4 separate regions of the Homo sapiens genome follow, and all the other regions are linked to region 1. Evidence: promoter capture Hi-C in 16 types of primary human blood cells and fetal thymus (Javierre and others, 2016). All regions are on one chromosome and are shown on one strand. The core of a region is centred on a gene start or on the middle of the fragment in contact, and the rest is flanking DNA. Distances in the headings are between cores, read along the strand shown.

What was found. Contacts are between HindIII fragments. The CHiCAGO score rates a contact against its expected background, and 5 or more counts as called.
Region 2: a contact is called between a fragment that was not itself captured here and the fragment with the promoter of AS3MT in region 1, in 1 of 17 cell types (erythroblasts). The highest score is 5.2, in erythroblasts.
Region 3: a fragment that was not itself captured here is called in contact with the fragment with the promoter of AS3MT in region 1 in 1 of 17 cell types (erythroblasts); the score reaches 9.0 in erythroblasts.
Region 4: a fragment that was not itself captured here is called in contact with the fragment with the promoter of AS3MT in region 1 in 1 of 17 cell types (erythroblasts); the score reaches 8.2 in erythroblasts.

The regions. Positions count from the first base shown.
Region 1 is chr10:102,867,320-102,871,135 of GRCh38, reverse strand. AS3MT (arsenite methyltransferase) reads right to left here and starts at 1,666. Exons shown (of 11, transcript NM_020682.4): 1 at 1,543-1,666; 2 at 1,291-1,331; 3 at 925-1,052. The coding sequence starts at 1,543. BORCS7-ASMT (BORCS7-ASMT readthrough (NMD candidate)) reads right to left here. Exons shown (of 15, transcript NR_037644.1): 6 at 1,291-1,331; 7 at 925-1,052. It also overlaps the pseudogene LOC124902567. The HindIII fragment of the contact is 4,429 bases long and covers 1-2,866 here.
Region 2 is chr10:103,117,505-103,121,320 of GRCh38, reverse strand. The region is part of intron 4 of NT5C2 (5'-nucleotidase, cytosolic II); the gene reads left to right. Among named protein-coding and RNA genes, the nearest start is that of NT5C2, 74 kb to the left of the region's middle. The HindIII fragment of the contact is 5,128 bases long and covers 1-3,816 here.
Region 3 is chr10:103,099,863-103,103,678 of GRCh38, reverse strand. It overlaps NT5C2 (5'-nucleotidase, cytosolic II), which reads left to right. Exons shown (of 19, transcript NM_001351169.2): 7 at 2,353-2,444; 8 at 2,577-2,634; 9 at 3,660-3,753. Among named protein-coding and RNA genes, the nearest start is that of NT5C2, 92 kb to the left of the region's middle. The HindIII fragment of the contact is 6,803 bases long and covers 1-3,816 here.
Region 4 is chr10:103,080,146-103,083,961 of GRCh38, reverse strand. It overlaps CNNM2 (cyclin and CBS domain divalent metal cation transport mediator 2), which reads right to left. Exons shown (of 8, transcript NM_017649.5): 8 at 1-3,816. Among named protein-coding and RNA genes, the nearest start is that of NT5C2, 110 kb to the left of the region's middle. RefSeq lists an enhancer at 1-290. The HindIII fragment of the contact is 896 bases long and covers 1,358-2,253 here.

The sequences.
Region 1 (3,816 bases), core at 417-2,916:
AGTAGCTGGGACTACAGGCGTGCCCCACTACACCCAGCTAATTTTTGTATTTTCAGTAGAGACAGGGTTTCACTATGTTGACCAGGTCGGTCTTGAACTTCTGACCTCAAGTGATCTACCTGCCTTGGCCTCCCAAGTTCTGGGATGACGGACGTGAGCCACCGCTCCCCGCCGCGTAGGTGTATTTGAGAGGCGAGATAAAACATCGTGCACAGAAAACACTTCCCGTGATTTACGGACAGACCGAGTGACAGAGTGCTGTGGCAGTTTGGGGAAGAGGCCGCTCAAGGATTAGAGAAGGCTCCATGCAGTAGGTGGGACAGCAGCGTGGTGCTGGATGCGCAGGGTTGGGAAGGAAAAAGAAAAGGGAAGACCTTCCAAATTGGTGACTGCCGGCTGGGCAGGCAGTGCTGATGGAGTGAGGAAGGGAAGGGTCAAAAGGGCCAAGGTTGATTAGTGGGTGCTGAACTGCGCATATCTTGAATGGCAGATCCAGTGAGTGTGACTGTATTCTGTGAGCATGGGTAGGGACTACAGAGTGTTCACGCTGGAGGTTCTTTTTTTTAGGCAATTTTTTTAAAGTACGCATTTATTTTAGAGATGCATCTGGCTATGTTGACCAAGCTGGAGTGCAGTGGCTATTCACATCCCGGATCGCACACTACAGCCTGTAACTTCTGGGCTCACGCGATCCTCTGCCTCAGCCTCCCAAGCACTTGGGACTACAGGCTCACTGGCGCGCCCAGACTCATCGGAGGTTCTTAGAGCAGTAAGATGATGGGTGCTGAGATTTAGGATTTTTACAATAGACAAGGCAAGCTGATGGGTTGGTGGCTACGGGTTAATTCCCTAGTGACCTGCATCATTATCTTTTGGGAAAACTGCTGTTTGGGGTCTTCCTGGGGACAGCACAGGGCACTCTACCTTAGGGCTACTTCTTCGTGTACATTTTGCAAGGCTTCCCGGATGTGCTTGGGGACCGGCCTGGCTGTGGTGACACAGCCGTTGGTCTGGAGGTCTGCCGATCTCTTCAGCACCTGCCCGTAGTAGGTCTGACCCAGCGTCCCACAGTGGAGTGAGGGGTAGAGAGGGAGAAGAGCTGTGACTGCAGCGCGAGGGCTCCGTCACCACCTCCACCTCCACTTGGCCGACCTCAGTTCCCTGGAAAGGTCGAAGCCTAGACCCTGCCCTACCCCGACTCCAGGAGTCCCGGGGGACAGGGTGCGGGCCAGGCCAGACTTCCATTAGCCTAGGCTCCACTTGGGCCATTCCAGGCCCTACAGCTCTCACCTGCACGTCCTTCTGTATCTCAGCGTCACGAAGTGCAGCCACTGTCGGGAGCGGGAAAGTTAGTTGAAAGGAGAGGGTGCTGAGGGACGGGCATGAGGGAGGGGGCCAGTAAAGGGCAGGCAGCGGGCCGAGGGGTGAGGGGAGGACAAAGGTCTCGAGACACAGCTCGGGGGAGGCGCTCGCGTTCCCGCCTTGCGGGGGCCCAGGGAAGGGGCTGGGGGCTGGGGCGGGGCGCCCAGGGCGCGCACTCACTGTCTCCTCGGCCTGCGACTCAGGGCGCGCACTCACTGTCTCCTCGGCCTGCGACTCAGGGCGCGCACTCACTGTCTCCTCGGCCTGCGACTCAGGACGGCGGGCTCCCGCAGCCAGCTCCTGTGCCGAGGCCCCGCCCAGGCTGGCAGGCTTGCTCCGCCCGCCCATCCCGCTCTAGCCCCTCGCTCAGGCGCCCACCGCCTGACCCGCTGTTCCACTGTCATCCGCGCTGCTCTACAGGCTTTCCAACCAGGAGGTCGGTATCAGCATCCCCCTTGTTCGCTCCACTGCGATTTTCACGGATAAATCTCGTACTCTGATTTAAATGAACACTCACCTATATAATGATCTTCCCCCCTCCCCCTTTTTGGGAATAGAATCATCTTTTCTCGATCTGTTTTTTGAAGTCAAGTTTGTTGAGATATAATTCACATTCCGTGAAATCCATCTTTCTTCAGTGTGCAGTTCTGTGAACTCTGGCAAACGTATATACATCACCAAAACGGAGACCAAAATAGCTCTGGCCCACAAGTTTCTTCGTGCCTCTTTGTAGTAAATTCCCTCTTCCCACCCCTAGCTCCTGGGCAACCACAGATGTTTTCCCTCCCTATAGTTCTGCCTTTTCTAGAATGTCACATAGAGGGAACCATTAACAGTATGTAGCTGTTCCCAGTCTATTTTGGGTTGTATTTAGGAAAGCAACTTTGCTAAATTTATTTTCACCTATAGTAATTTTTGGTCAAGTCACATGTATTTTCCAGGTATTGTCACTTCATCTTGCAGAAAGTTTTTTTTTTAATTTTTAAATTTTTTTGAGACGGTCTCTGTTACCCAGGCCCAACCTCCTGGCTCAAGCGATCCTCCCGCCTCAGCCTCCCAAGTACCTTGGATTACAGGCGTGCACCACCACACCTGGTTAATTTTTGTATTTTTTTATAGAGACGGGATTTCACCATGTTGTCCAGGCTGGTCTCCAACTCCTGGGTTCAAGCAATCCGCCCGCCTCAGCCTCCCAAAGTGTTTGGATTACAGGCATGAGCCACAGTGCCAGGCCCAAAAGTATTTTTTGTTTTTTTAAATATGGAACACTTCACGAATTTGTATGTCATCTTGCGCAGGGGCCATGCAAATCTTCTCTATCATTCCAACTATATGTGCTGCCGAAGCGAGCACCCAAAAGTATTTTTAAATTATTTATTTTTACTTCCACAATTATATGTGTATATCTTGTTTCCCTTTGTGGTTGTAACAAGCATTTCTCTTTTTATAATTTAAATTAAAAAAAAATTTTTAGAGACAGGGTCTCAACTCTGTGGCCCAAGCTTAGCGTCACTGCGCAATCATCTCTGGATCCTTCAACTCTGGCCTCAAGCCATCCTCCCTCCTCAGCCTCCCCAGTAGCTGGGACTACAGGTGCAAGCCACCATGCCCAGCTTGTAACGATCATTTCTATTCATTAGGACAGTAAGGAAACAGGGAGATCCAAGTGAAAGGATATCTAAATGGATGAAGTAGACTCTTTCATTCATTTTTCAATCTCAGTTGCCAATAATACAAAAATCTGGTTGATATCCAGCTAGTAAATTTTCATCTTCTCTGATGTCAATTAGTTGTTACAAATTAATAGAAAGGTGGTGTCTTTTATATTTTTAACAAATTAACCCCATGGAAATAATCCTTGTTGGAATATTTCTACAGCTTGGAATATTTCCAACTAGTATATGTATAAAACTTAGTGTTTTTATAAGTATCACTTAGTTTTTGGGCAATCATAGAATGGTGAAAACACTCCTAAATATTAGTTTTCAAAATATTATCTTCATAAAATGAGCTCCTTTAGAAAAGCAGTTACCTTCTCATAGTTAAAATGATATCTTTATCTTAAAAGGGCAGATTAGTGAGAGGTCAAGGAAAGGGCTGTATCATTTTTCTCTTGTGCTTGTTTTGTTATCTTTAATTTATGGTTTACTTACAAGAATCATTTGACAATCCTTTTTTTTTTTTTTTTTTTTTGAGACAGAGTTTCGCTCTTGTTGCCCAAGCTGGAGCGCAATGGCGCAATCTCGGCTCACTGCAACCTCTGCCTCCCCGGTTCAAGCGATTCTCCTGCCTCAGCCTCCCAAGTAGCTGGAATTACAGGCATGCACTACCATGCCTGGCTAATTTGTATTTTTAGTAGAGACAGGGTTTCACCATGTTGGCCAGGCTGTCTCGAACTCCTGATCTCAAGTGATCCGCCTGCCTCTGCCTCCTAAAAGTGCTGGGATTCCAGGT
Region 2 (3,816 bases), core at 396-2,895, 250 kb before region 1:
CCAGCATTAAAAAAATTTATGGTAAAATATATAGAATATAATATTACCATTTTAAACCATTTTCAAGTATACAATTCAATGGCATTAAGCACATTCACAAAGTTGCACAATGCTCACCACTATCCATTTCCAGAACTTTTTCATCATCCCAAACAGAAACTCCATACCCATTAAGCAATAACTCCCCATTCCCTCCACCCCTCAGTTGCTAGTAACCTCTAATTTATTTTGTCTCTATGAATTTGTCTGTTATAGGTATTTCATAAAAGTGAAATTATACAATACTTGTTTTGTGTCTGGCTTATTTCTTTTAGCATATTTTTTAAATTTGTCCATGTTATAGCATATATTACTTTTTGAGACTGAATAATATTCTACTGTAGGTATATACATTTGTTTATCTGTTCATCTGTTGATGGACATGGGGATTGTCTCCACCTTTTGGCTATTATGAATAGGCTGCTGTGAACATTGGTATTTAAGCATCTGTTTGAGTTCCTGCTTCCTGCTTTCAGTTGTTTTGGGTATATACCCAGGAATGGAATTGCTGGATCATAACGTAAATCTATGTTTAGCTTTTTAAAGAACTGCCAAACTGTTCTCTATAGTGGCTGTAACATCTTACATCCCCACCAGCAATACATGAATGAGAGTTCCAGTTTCTTCACATCTTGGCAATACTTATTTTCAGGTTTTTTGTTGTTGTTTGATAATACTCATTCTACTGGGTGTGAAGTTACGGTATCTTATGGTTTTGATTTCATGTTTCTCTAATGGCTGGTGATATTAAGCATCATTTCATGTGTTTATTTAGTCAGTTATATAACTTCTTTGGAGAAATATCAGTTTTTTAAAATTAGGTTTTTAAAATAACTGTGGAGTTACACATTCTGCATATTAATCTTTATATATTCTGGATATTAATCCCTCATCAGATACACAATTTGCAAATATTGTCTCTCATTCTGTGGGTTTTCTTTTCCCTCTCTTGATCATGGCTTTTGAGGCACAAAAGTTTTTAATTTTGAAGTCCAGTTTATCTGTTTTTTTCTTTTGTTGCCAGTGCTTTTTGCTGTCATAGCTGTGAAATCATTCCCAAATCCAATATAAGGAAGATTTTCTGCCATGTTTTCTTCTAAGAGTTTTATAGTTTTAACTCCTACATTTAGGTCTTTGATCCATTTTGAGTTTACTTCTTTTCTTTTCTTCCTTTTTTTTTTTTGAAACAGGGTCTCACACTGTCATCCAGGCTGGAGTGCAGTGGTGTGATCTCAGCTCACTGCAACCTCTGCCTCCCAGGCTCAAGTGATTCTCCCATTTCAGCCTCCCAAGTAGCTGGGACTATAGGCTCGTGCCATCATGCCTGGCTAATTTTTTTATTTTTTGTAGAAATGGGGTTTCACCATGTTGCCCAGGCTGGTCTCTAATTCCTGGACTCAAGCAGTCCACCAGCCTCAGCCTTCCAGAGTGCTGGGATTACAGGCATGAGACTGCAACTGGCCACGCCTTTTTTTTTGTTTAATGAAACCAATGACAATGTAAAAGTCTGTGCTTTAGCATTTCTTCTTAAAGAACGATGAAACTCTTTGATGAATTAAGATGGAAGATTAGCTGAGCTGAACTTACTATTGATAGCGTGTAAACTGGTTGCATCTATTTGGAGTTCTTACTGTGACGAGAGGTCTCTGAAAGGAATGTATTTGTTGAAAAGTCTTTGGTACAAAACAAGAAAGGTAACCTTTATCAAAAAGACCAAAGAAATTCTCATTGTCCTAGGTCATGAAATAATACTCAGGGCATCCTCCTCACAACTTGGAAAATATAGAACTTGTGCATTACCTCATCCCACTGGCTTCCAGATTATATGTGCAAGAGATATTTGTGTGAGGGAATGAGCACTTCTAAGTCAGTGAAAGCTACCAACCTGTATATACCCTCTGACTTTTTTTTGGAGACAAAATTTTGCTCTTGTTGCCCAGGCTGGAGTACAATGGCGCGATCTCAGCTCACCGCAACCTCTGCCTCCTGGATTCAAATGATTCTCCTGCCTCAGCCTCCTGAGTAGCTGGGATTTCAGGCATGTGCCACCATGCCTGGCTAATTTTGTATTTTTAGTAGAGATGGGGTTTCTCCATGTTGGTCAGGCTGGTCTTGAACTCCCCATCTCAGGTGATCCACCCATCTTGGCTTCCCAAAGTACTGGGATTACAGGTGTGAGCCACTGTGCCCGGCCCTCTGACTTATTCTTGAGAGATTTATCAGTTTGTGAATGGATCAAAAGCATACAACTGAAAATTAAAGAACAGAAAAATAGATGTAGTTTGACTTACTACATCTTAAAAATGCATTCATGATCTCCCTTAGTGATCTTTTTTCTTAAGAGTTTTTGGACTCTTGCCCTCCCCCACAAATAGGGTAGAATAAGAGAATAAGCTGAGTATTTAAACTAGGGTAACAGATAAAAAGAAAAAAAAAATTCCCTCTCCAAAAAGAGATGATCCCTTAAAAAACAAACAAACAAAAAAGATAATTGTGGTTAATAAAATTAATAAAAATAAATTAGAAAACATTCATAAAACTAAACAAAGTAAAAATCTAATCAGAATATATCATAAGGACTCAACCCCTAAAGGAGATTTGTGAAGATGAAATGTGATGATTTTGTCCAGGCATGGTGGCTTATTCCTGTAATTAATGCCAGCACTTTGGGAGGCCGAGGCAGATGGATTGCTTGCACCTAGGAGTCCAGGACCAGCCTGAGCAACATAACAAAACCGCATCTCTACAAAAAATGCAAAAATTAGTTGAGCGTGGTGCACGTCTGTAATCCCAGCTACTCTGGAGGCTGAGGTGGGAGAATTGCTTGATCCTGGGAGGCGGAGGTTGCAGTGAGCTGAGATTGTGCCACTGCACTTCAGCCTGGGCTACAGAATGAGACCTATCCAAAAAAAAAAAAAAAGGAAAAGAAATATGATAATTTCATGCTAGATTCATTGAATTGTATCAATGTTCTGATTAGACTAAACTGAACTTGACAAGGCCTATGGTGAATAGATTTACATAGCTGTTAGGTTCATTATTTATAGTTTTAACTATGAAGCAATAAATGATGAATAGACTATAAAGACTACTGTTATATAGGATTTATACTTTACTTTTTTTCCAAAAGGGATTTGAGGTGACTTGCAAAATTAAGCACATATAAAATGGGTCAAAAGACTAATTTTTTAAAATAAAGCACATAAGAAAATATGCTTCCAAATAGATATTATCCTTCATATAGTCACCTTATTAAGGAAAACTTACTCCAATATTGCTTTCTTAGACATTTTAGGAATTCTTTTGGAATTGTTTTCAGAGCCAGCTTATAAACTCAAAACCTGCTTTATTGTTCTACATAGTCATACTTTTTTTTTTTAAACCCAGCTCGTTTTCCCCATTTATTCATTAGTTGCTCCGAATAACCCTCACCTCAATTAAATTCATCACCTGTTGAGGAACAAACATGTGCCACCAGGGAGGATATCTAGAATAATGTGCTGTAGACGCTAAAAGTAATTTTAAAATAAGAATTTTCAATGTTTTGAGTAGTGGTTGCAATACTAGAATAAATACATATTGCTTCTGGATAAATACAATTGCTTCTGCATATTGTTTGTTGTTGTTGTTGTTTTGAGACAGGTTCTTGCTCTGTCACCCAGGCTGCAGCACAGTGGTGCAATTGTAGTTTACTATAACCTTGAACTACTGGGCTCAAGTGATCCTCTTACCTCAAACTCCTGAATAGCAAGGACTATAGGTGTATGCCACCATGGC
Region 3 (3,816 bases), core at 676-3,175, 230 kb before region 1:
AGTAATCTGTGCTGTAACTGTTTTCTTCCCATTCCAAGTGTAGCATTTCTTTTATGATATATTACCTCCCCCAAATTGATTTTTATTTTAAATATATACTAGTGTGATTTGACACTGAAGTTTACAATGTAATTGCTAACTATATTTATAAATCAATTTGGGTTCTAACTGCCTAATAAATGTTAACCATCTTTATGTAAAGGAATTTTTCTTTAATGATGGAGGGAATAGGGAAGTATATTGTATCTAAGGAGACAGTGTCAGCTTATTAAATCTAACTGAAGAAAGTATATTTTTACTGTTACCTTCCACCTTACTTTTATTAAAGAAAATCTTGGAAAGCTAGAAGATAAGATACTCTACAAAGTTATTCATTATTGGGAACTCTCATCTCAGAAGAGTGACTTAAGACAGGGAGCTAATGTGATTTTTATATGTCTAACTAGAGTTTATGCCATTTGTAGTTAACAAACCCAGGCAGGAATTAATCCAGGTCACTCTGAGTGTGAGCTTTAAATTTGATTTCCTTTATTTACATTGTTAATCTCCATGTATTCACTGTCAGAACTGTGCATTTTTATATTTTAGTATTTTTCCCTTTGAGTTTCTCTGAAATGTTTTCTTCTAGAAGTGTTTTTGCATCTTTAACAAATTCTGCTTCACTGGCTTTTTTCTTTTAAACCTTGAATTTTCTTCATGGTTCTGTTCTGTCTCTTCTCTTCCTTCTCTGCACACTAAGTGGTTTCATCTCCTCTAATACTTTTCATGATTCCATCTAGTATCTGTACGTAGATGATCTCAGTTATCTCTCAAGGCTGAATCTCTTTTAAGTTCTTGACCTTTGTTTCTAATTGCCTAATAAAAATCAGTTTACTTCAAACTTAGTATCACTAAAATAGAACTACTCTCACATCACTTCTTATCTAGTTTTCATATTTCTGTTCATCGTACCAACCACCTCTCAGAGACACCTTAGCATGGACATCATCATCTTTGACTCTTTAATGTTCCCCCAGCCAAATCTGCTCAGTTTGCCGGGTCTTATTTTACCTTGGTAATCTCTCTTGAATATATGAGTGAGCTGAGATCACGCCACTGCACTCCAGCCTGGCCGACAGAGTGAGACTCTGTCTCAAAAAAAAAAAAAGAAAAAAGAAAAAATTCTGAGAGTCAACTGGGTGATTCTGGGTTGCACAGCTGATCTCTCTATGCTCTTTCACATGTCTGTGGTTAGCTGGTGGGTGACCTGGCATCTGATCTACAATGGCCTCATGCACATGTCTGGCATTCACAGGCTGTTGGCCGAGTGCTTCATTTCTACATGTAGCCTTCTATCCTCCAGCAGACTATCTCACTGTCATGCACATAGTAGTCCATGGTTCCAAGTGCTGCAAGAGAGATTAAGCCTCAATACACACATGTTTTTCTAGGTCTCTGCTTGGATCCCATTTGCTGCTATACAAGCCTATATTCAAGGATAGAGAAATAGACTGAGTTCTAATGGGAGGAGCCACAAAATTGCATCACAAAGAGACAGGAAGAATTTGTGGCCATTGTTGGAGTGCATCACATTGTCTTTCCCCAGTTTATCCTAAAACAGCCACTAATTTAATTTTGTTTTACAACTCAGCCCCGATGGGATTATCCTCTGCTTTAAAACTGTCAGTAGTACCCTCTTGCCCCTAAATGGTGTAGAAACAGTAGCTTAATCTGCCTCAACCCATCTTTCTAGCTTAATTTTTCTCTGCTCCCCTTTCTCTACCCAAGTTGGACTAGTTTCACAACTGGTCCACCTAGCCTTTAAGGCCCAGCTCATATACCAGCACGTGCATGAATCCTTCCTAGATTTTCCTCTCCTTAGTCCTCACATTTGCTTCTCTCTACCTCTTAAGTTGAAATGGTGTTCCCTTCTTTGGTTTTCTCATAAATGTTTGCACCTTTCTTGTAGTAGTTGTGATTTTTTACCTTATAATTATATGTGTATGTGACCCACCTCGCCCACCACACTGACAACTCTTTTAAGAGCTGGAACCTAAGCTGGACATCACACCTGTAATCCCAGCTACTTGGGAGGCTGAGGTGGGAAGATTGCTTGAGCAATCTTCAGGAGTTTGAGTCCAGCCTGGACTTAAAATAGCAAGACTGTCTTAAAAAAAAAAAAAAATTAAAATTAAAAAAAATAAAGAGCTGGAACCTGAACTCGTTCATCTTCATAGCTATCCATGCGTAATATTCGGAATTCTGTCTTGCACATAGCCATCAAAATATTTGAGTTAATTTTTGAATAATGCTATTTCCCAATTATTATAATGTTATTTTAAAAATCAGTTAATTTTTAAATTTTTCTTTCAGACCAGAAACTAGAGAACAGTATCCAAATAAATTTATCCAGCGAGATGATACTGAAAGATTTTACATTCTGAACACACTATTCAACCTACCAGGTAGATTCATTCTATGCTTATTTATACTGATGCTTTCCCTTCTGTGACCATTAGTCTGTATTCAAGGGAGGTAATGAAATAAGTTTGAATTATTTCATTATAGCTTATGAATATCTGTTCTTCATTTTTCAGAGACCTACCTGTTGGCCTGCCTAGTAGATTTTTTTACTAATTGTCCCAGATATACCAGGTATGTATATACTATAATTATTTTTTTCCAATTGATTTTTAAAATTAATGCACAGGGTTTTAGAGAACTGGCCATTGTAGGTCTTTTCTGCTTTTCTAAAGTGAATTTAGTGCTAGTGAGAGATGCCACATTGCCAACCTGAGAGATGGGACAGCACCAGCAGCTCCATGCAGGCTCTCACCTCCCACACGGCCCCTCTCCTTGCCAGTGTGCTGCAGCCACCACTTCTGATTGGCTTCTCCTGGGAATGAAGACGGCCAGCAGAGGTGCTAATTGTGACAACTGAGTGGGAGGTTTGTGTGATGATTATCTGTCCAAGCAGAATTACACTAAAACCCCCCAACTCATTTCACAGCAGCTACCCAGGAGCCATTCAGGGATGGTAATTTAATTTCATTCCCAGGCCAGGCAAGATTTGATTAAGGAATAAATACTGTGTATCTTATCAGAAGTAAAATTTTGCGTAAGTCTTAAACAAGTTATCCTCTCCCTTTAGGGAGAATTATATAGCCAATACTGAAAGTTTAGCCATCTATATACCAGAGTTGGCTAACTTCTTATCCTCTTTGGGCTTTATCCACTTGAAGACACTAAATTTGGTGGAAAGCTGAGTCACTGAACTAAATAAAAAAATGGACAGTACCTTTGTACTTAGGGACAGTGTCAGGAAAGTCAGGGTGGAAAGAACCTAAATGACCAATTTTAAGTTTTAAATGTTTCTTCAACCTGTTTCTAAAAAGTGATAAATAAAAAAACCTGACATTTTTGGAACTTTGGCCTTTTAGCTTCCATTCAATATATTCTTCTATCACTTTGTATTTGTTCACAATTACTGTATTCCATTGAACACTATAGCCATTTCTGGTGGTCAAAGTGGACTTTCATTAGGGAGTAATTATTTTCCTCATTAGCCACAGCCTTTACCCATGTGATATGGAACCTTTGGGTCCCCTGGGAAATTTTTGATATATATTTTGTTTACCCTGTTTTGGATCCCCTGTCATGTTATTTTTATCTTTCTGTAGTTGTGAAACAGGATTTAAAGATGGGGACCTCTTCATGTCCTACCGGAGTATGTTCCAGGATGTAAGAGATGCTGTTGACTGGGTTCATTACAAGGTACCTAGAAGCTGTTTCTTCACCTGCTTGCTTTCTGGCATGTATTTTATGGCGTGGCATTAA
Region 4 (3,816 bases), core at 556-3,055, 210 kb before region 1:
AAGACCCACCTGCACACGCCTCGCCACACTCAGGCCGGATGTTTTCCACTTGAAAGTGACTATCCATGCCTGCTCCGACCTTCCTCCCAGGCTTAGCATAGCAGAGGAGGACCTATAAAGCCATCCTTGTTTTCAAGAGCCAATTGAGAGGCCTGAATGAGACCTTTGGTCTTACCTAGGAAATGCCGGCTTAGCCCAGCGGCACTGTGTGTTGTTATTAGTGACTGAGCAGCCAATGTCTGGGGCAATTTGACTGGATACTCCGAATGTTCTTATGTAGAGAGTAACTGATGGAGAACAGATTATAATCCTTGCAAAGAAGGACACCTTCCCCCTAGGATTGGCTGTACCAGGCTGTGACTTGGAGGCACAGAACTAGTACCCACTTCTCTTAAGACTTTACACTGTCCAAAGAAGATGCTCTTCTATGTTGTCATGCTGAGATCCAGTCCCAGCTTTCCCACCAGCAAAGCCAGGCAAGTGGGTAGGGCAGTTGGTTCAGCCAAGCTGAATACAATGGCATGGTTGGTGTTGCACAGATGAAAGGGAAGAGGGAACACACATCTGCTAGCAGGGTGAACAGAACATCATTTATCTAAATAGAATAGAAATAAACAAAAACCTTGTAAAACAATCACAAAATTTACAAATAAATTGGTACAAAATAAATAGGAGAGACTGTACATCTACATCATTTGAATTATAAAATGCATTCATTAAGACAATCAGCTCAATCCTATACATGTCATTTGTGCTTATTTAGGTTTATGTACACAGCTCTGAATACTGTGTTCAGAAAACTTCACTGCTCAAATGCATGACCTGTACACTATGATACAGTGAATAAAGGCTGAGGAGGATCAAAGTCAGACACAAAGCAGGGTCTTACTTGAGGGCCAAGGCAATGTTGGCACTGGGCCTCAAAACCAAGAAAAGGCATATTAAGAGCCCAGATAGGCAGGCAGCTTCCATTATCCAGAAAGATGGATTATGCAATCTAAGGTAAGTGGAAGAAACCATTATCACTGTGGGGCCAGGCAAGTGACCTGCCTTGGGAGGAGGGAGGCCGTGGACTCACAGCTGTACTGTACCCTACATAGGGGAAGAGAGCCTGTCACCAAGAAACCACCTTGGAAATATTTCATGGAGGTACTTGAGAGGCCCTGCCCACAAGGTAGGAGACCTGCCTCCATCCTCATCCAAAACACTGGTCATAAGGAATACAGGTGGGCCCAACTAAAGGGGCTGGGGATGCTAGGGCCAACATAAAAGCAGCAACCTGTTTATAAAAAACAACACTACCCTCTCACCCGCCTTAAAGGACAGCAGAACCCTAGGATCCATGGATGAGGAAGCTTCAAGACAGACCTTGTCCTAGTCACAGACGAAGTACTAACAGGCATATGTACATAATAAATAATATAAAATAAAGCATATACATTTGTGGGTTTAAAGGACTCAAACAAGAAAAAATTGATAACTTCACCTTCACAGTAGATTCAGACTTGGGGAGTAATGATCAGAAGCGAGGCTGGGGCTCTCTGGGGAATGAGAATCCTAAGACCTCATTCTTCCCAACTTTGCTCTGCTCTAGAAGTCTGAGCCTCCAACAAAAAAGGCAGGCACCCAAGCCCCACCAGGCCCATTGGATAGTTCTCTTCAGGGTGAATCTGCAGCCAAATCTGGCCCCCAAAGAACTGCATCCTAAAAGTGAATCCATGTGGATCAGATGCCGGAAGGCGTCCTTCCAAGCGAGGCAAGACAATGCTCCCATTCTTCTCATTTGTTCACGGTCCCAATGGGCATTAAAACCTGAAAACCTTGTGTACTCAAGTCTTTCTTACAGTATGTGTTGGATCTGTGTACATATAAACCTTGGCATACAAACACCTAGAACTTTACTCTCTTGCAGCTAGAACCTTTGTTTCCATGATGCTTGAAGTTCAACCTGGTATTTCCCATCAAAAGATATTTAAAACAATTCTAGTAGAGATGATGTCAGTAGCTCTAGCATACAGAGAGAACGTGCTTACTTGAGCTGAGCCAACCACAGTGGTGTGAGAAGCAAAGAAGGTCCCCAGCCTAGGATGGTGGGAGGAAAGCTGCTCCCTACTCTATGCAGTTGCTGTGAACTGCCATCTCTTCTTCGCATCCGTAGGGTTGACCAGGGACTCTAGAATATGAATCTCCAGATAGGAAAGAAGGTAGCAAAAGGGAAATGGGCAAGTAAACCGTGATCGCAGACAGAAAGCTTGCAAGTGCTAGAGGAGGAAGGCCTACTTGTCACAGCCTTGCTAAGTAACAGCAGCAAGCTATTGGTGCACCACTCACCCCTCAAACGGAGGCAAATGAACCTCAACTTAGAAGTCTCTGAACGTCTCTCTCCTATTAACCAACTTGAACACCTAAGAAATAGGAAAAGATAAAGATTTGCAAATGACCCTGAGGTATAAAAATCCACTGAGAAGTTGCTCATTGATACATCAGAAAAATTTCTGAATCCCCAGATCACTTTCCTATTCAAACCCCTATATCCCTACTAAATTCTGGGTTAACCTACAACTCACCCAGATACCCTTGATGGACAGAAGCACCACTAGCCTAGAGCCCAGAATGGAACTACATGGCCCAGGACAAGAGCCAGTTTCCTCAGTAAGGAAGTAAGCAATGGCACCTCAGAGGCCTTCTGGACCCTAACCTACCAGCTCAGTCTTGTATTTCTCCTCAACCCTTTGCAAAGAAAAGCCCATATCTGGGCTCAAAAGCAGAGGGGAGTTTTTCCCATGCCACCAGGGAGCTTGGGTCATGCTACATAGCGTGCAAAGCCAGCCCTCCCTGGCCTGCTCTTGCTTGGAGCCCCAGAGAACAAGGTGAGCACCTTCCTGTGCCAGCCCGGGTGAGTCATCTGCCTAGGATCACCCCTGGGGAACCACAGGGGCAACTCTGGTTGCCCAGGAGACCTCACCTTCCTGGGCCTAGGCAAGGCGAGGATGGCTACAGATCCCCGGCTGGCCTTCAGATGACAGAGGTGGTTGTGTGTTTTTACTAGGCAGGACACAGACTTGATCAGCCAGGGCCTATACAGGTCTGCTCCTCAACCCAAAGAGAGAATTTGAGGGCAGAAGTTCATGGTACCTGCTTAGCTCAAATTCCTATTGCTCTATTTCCTAGGGAAAATGTATTTCTATTTGTATCTACCATTATTTTCCTAGGCTTGGAAAAGCTGGTCCTTTAGTGTACAGTGCTGACGACAGCACAGGTAAATATACTCACAGTTACTGTTCCGTATTAGTGTGAAGCTCTGCATTCAACATTTGCACTGTTCCTTGAAGTCACATTAGAAGATGGTAAGATGCCCCACTCCCTCCCACTTGGGGATGCCAACCACTTCAACATGGCATTGAACTCCCTGCAGGGAGTGAGGTGAGGAGGGAGGAAAGAACAGAGTTCAATGTAACCTTTCAAGTTCAAATTATGTAAGAATCAAGATTTAAGCCAGTTGATTAGCACCCCGATATCTGTGTAAGTCTTAAGATTTTGTTTTCCTAAGAGTTTAAATGTATGATTTTGAATTTGCCTGACGCATATGGGACAAGCAGTGAAGGGACGGAACCTCCAAACAGCAGGAGAAAAGCCCTCCTCATTTACAGAGCAGGCAGAGTGTCCCAGGACTATCTGGATGCTAGGGATTTAGTTTCAGAGGAACCGTGGGGCACCAGTGGCTGCTCAGGAGCAGGTGAGGCTCTGTCCCACCCAGAGAGGCCCCGTAAAGGAGGGTGAGGCCTCCCATCAGTATCCAGAACTCAGGGGTCTGCA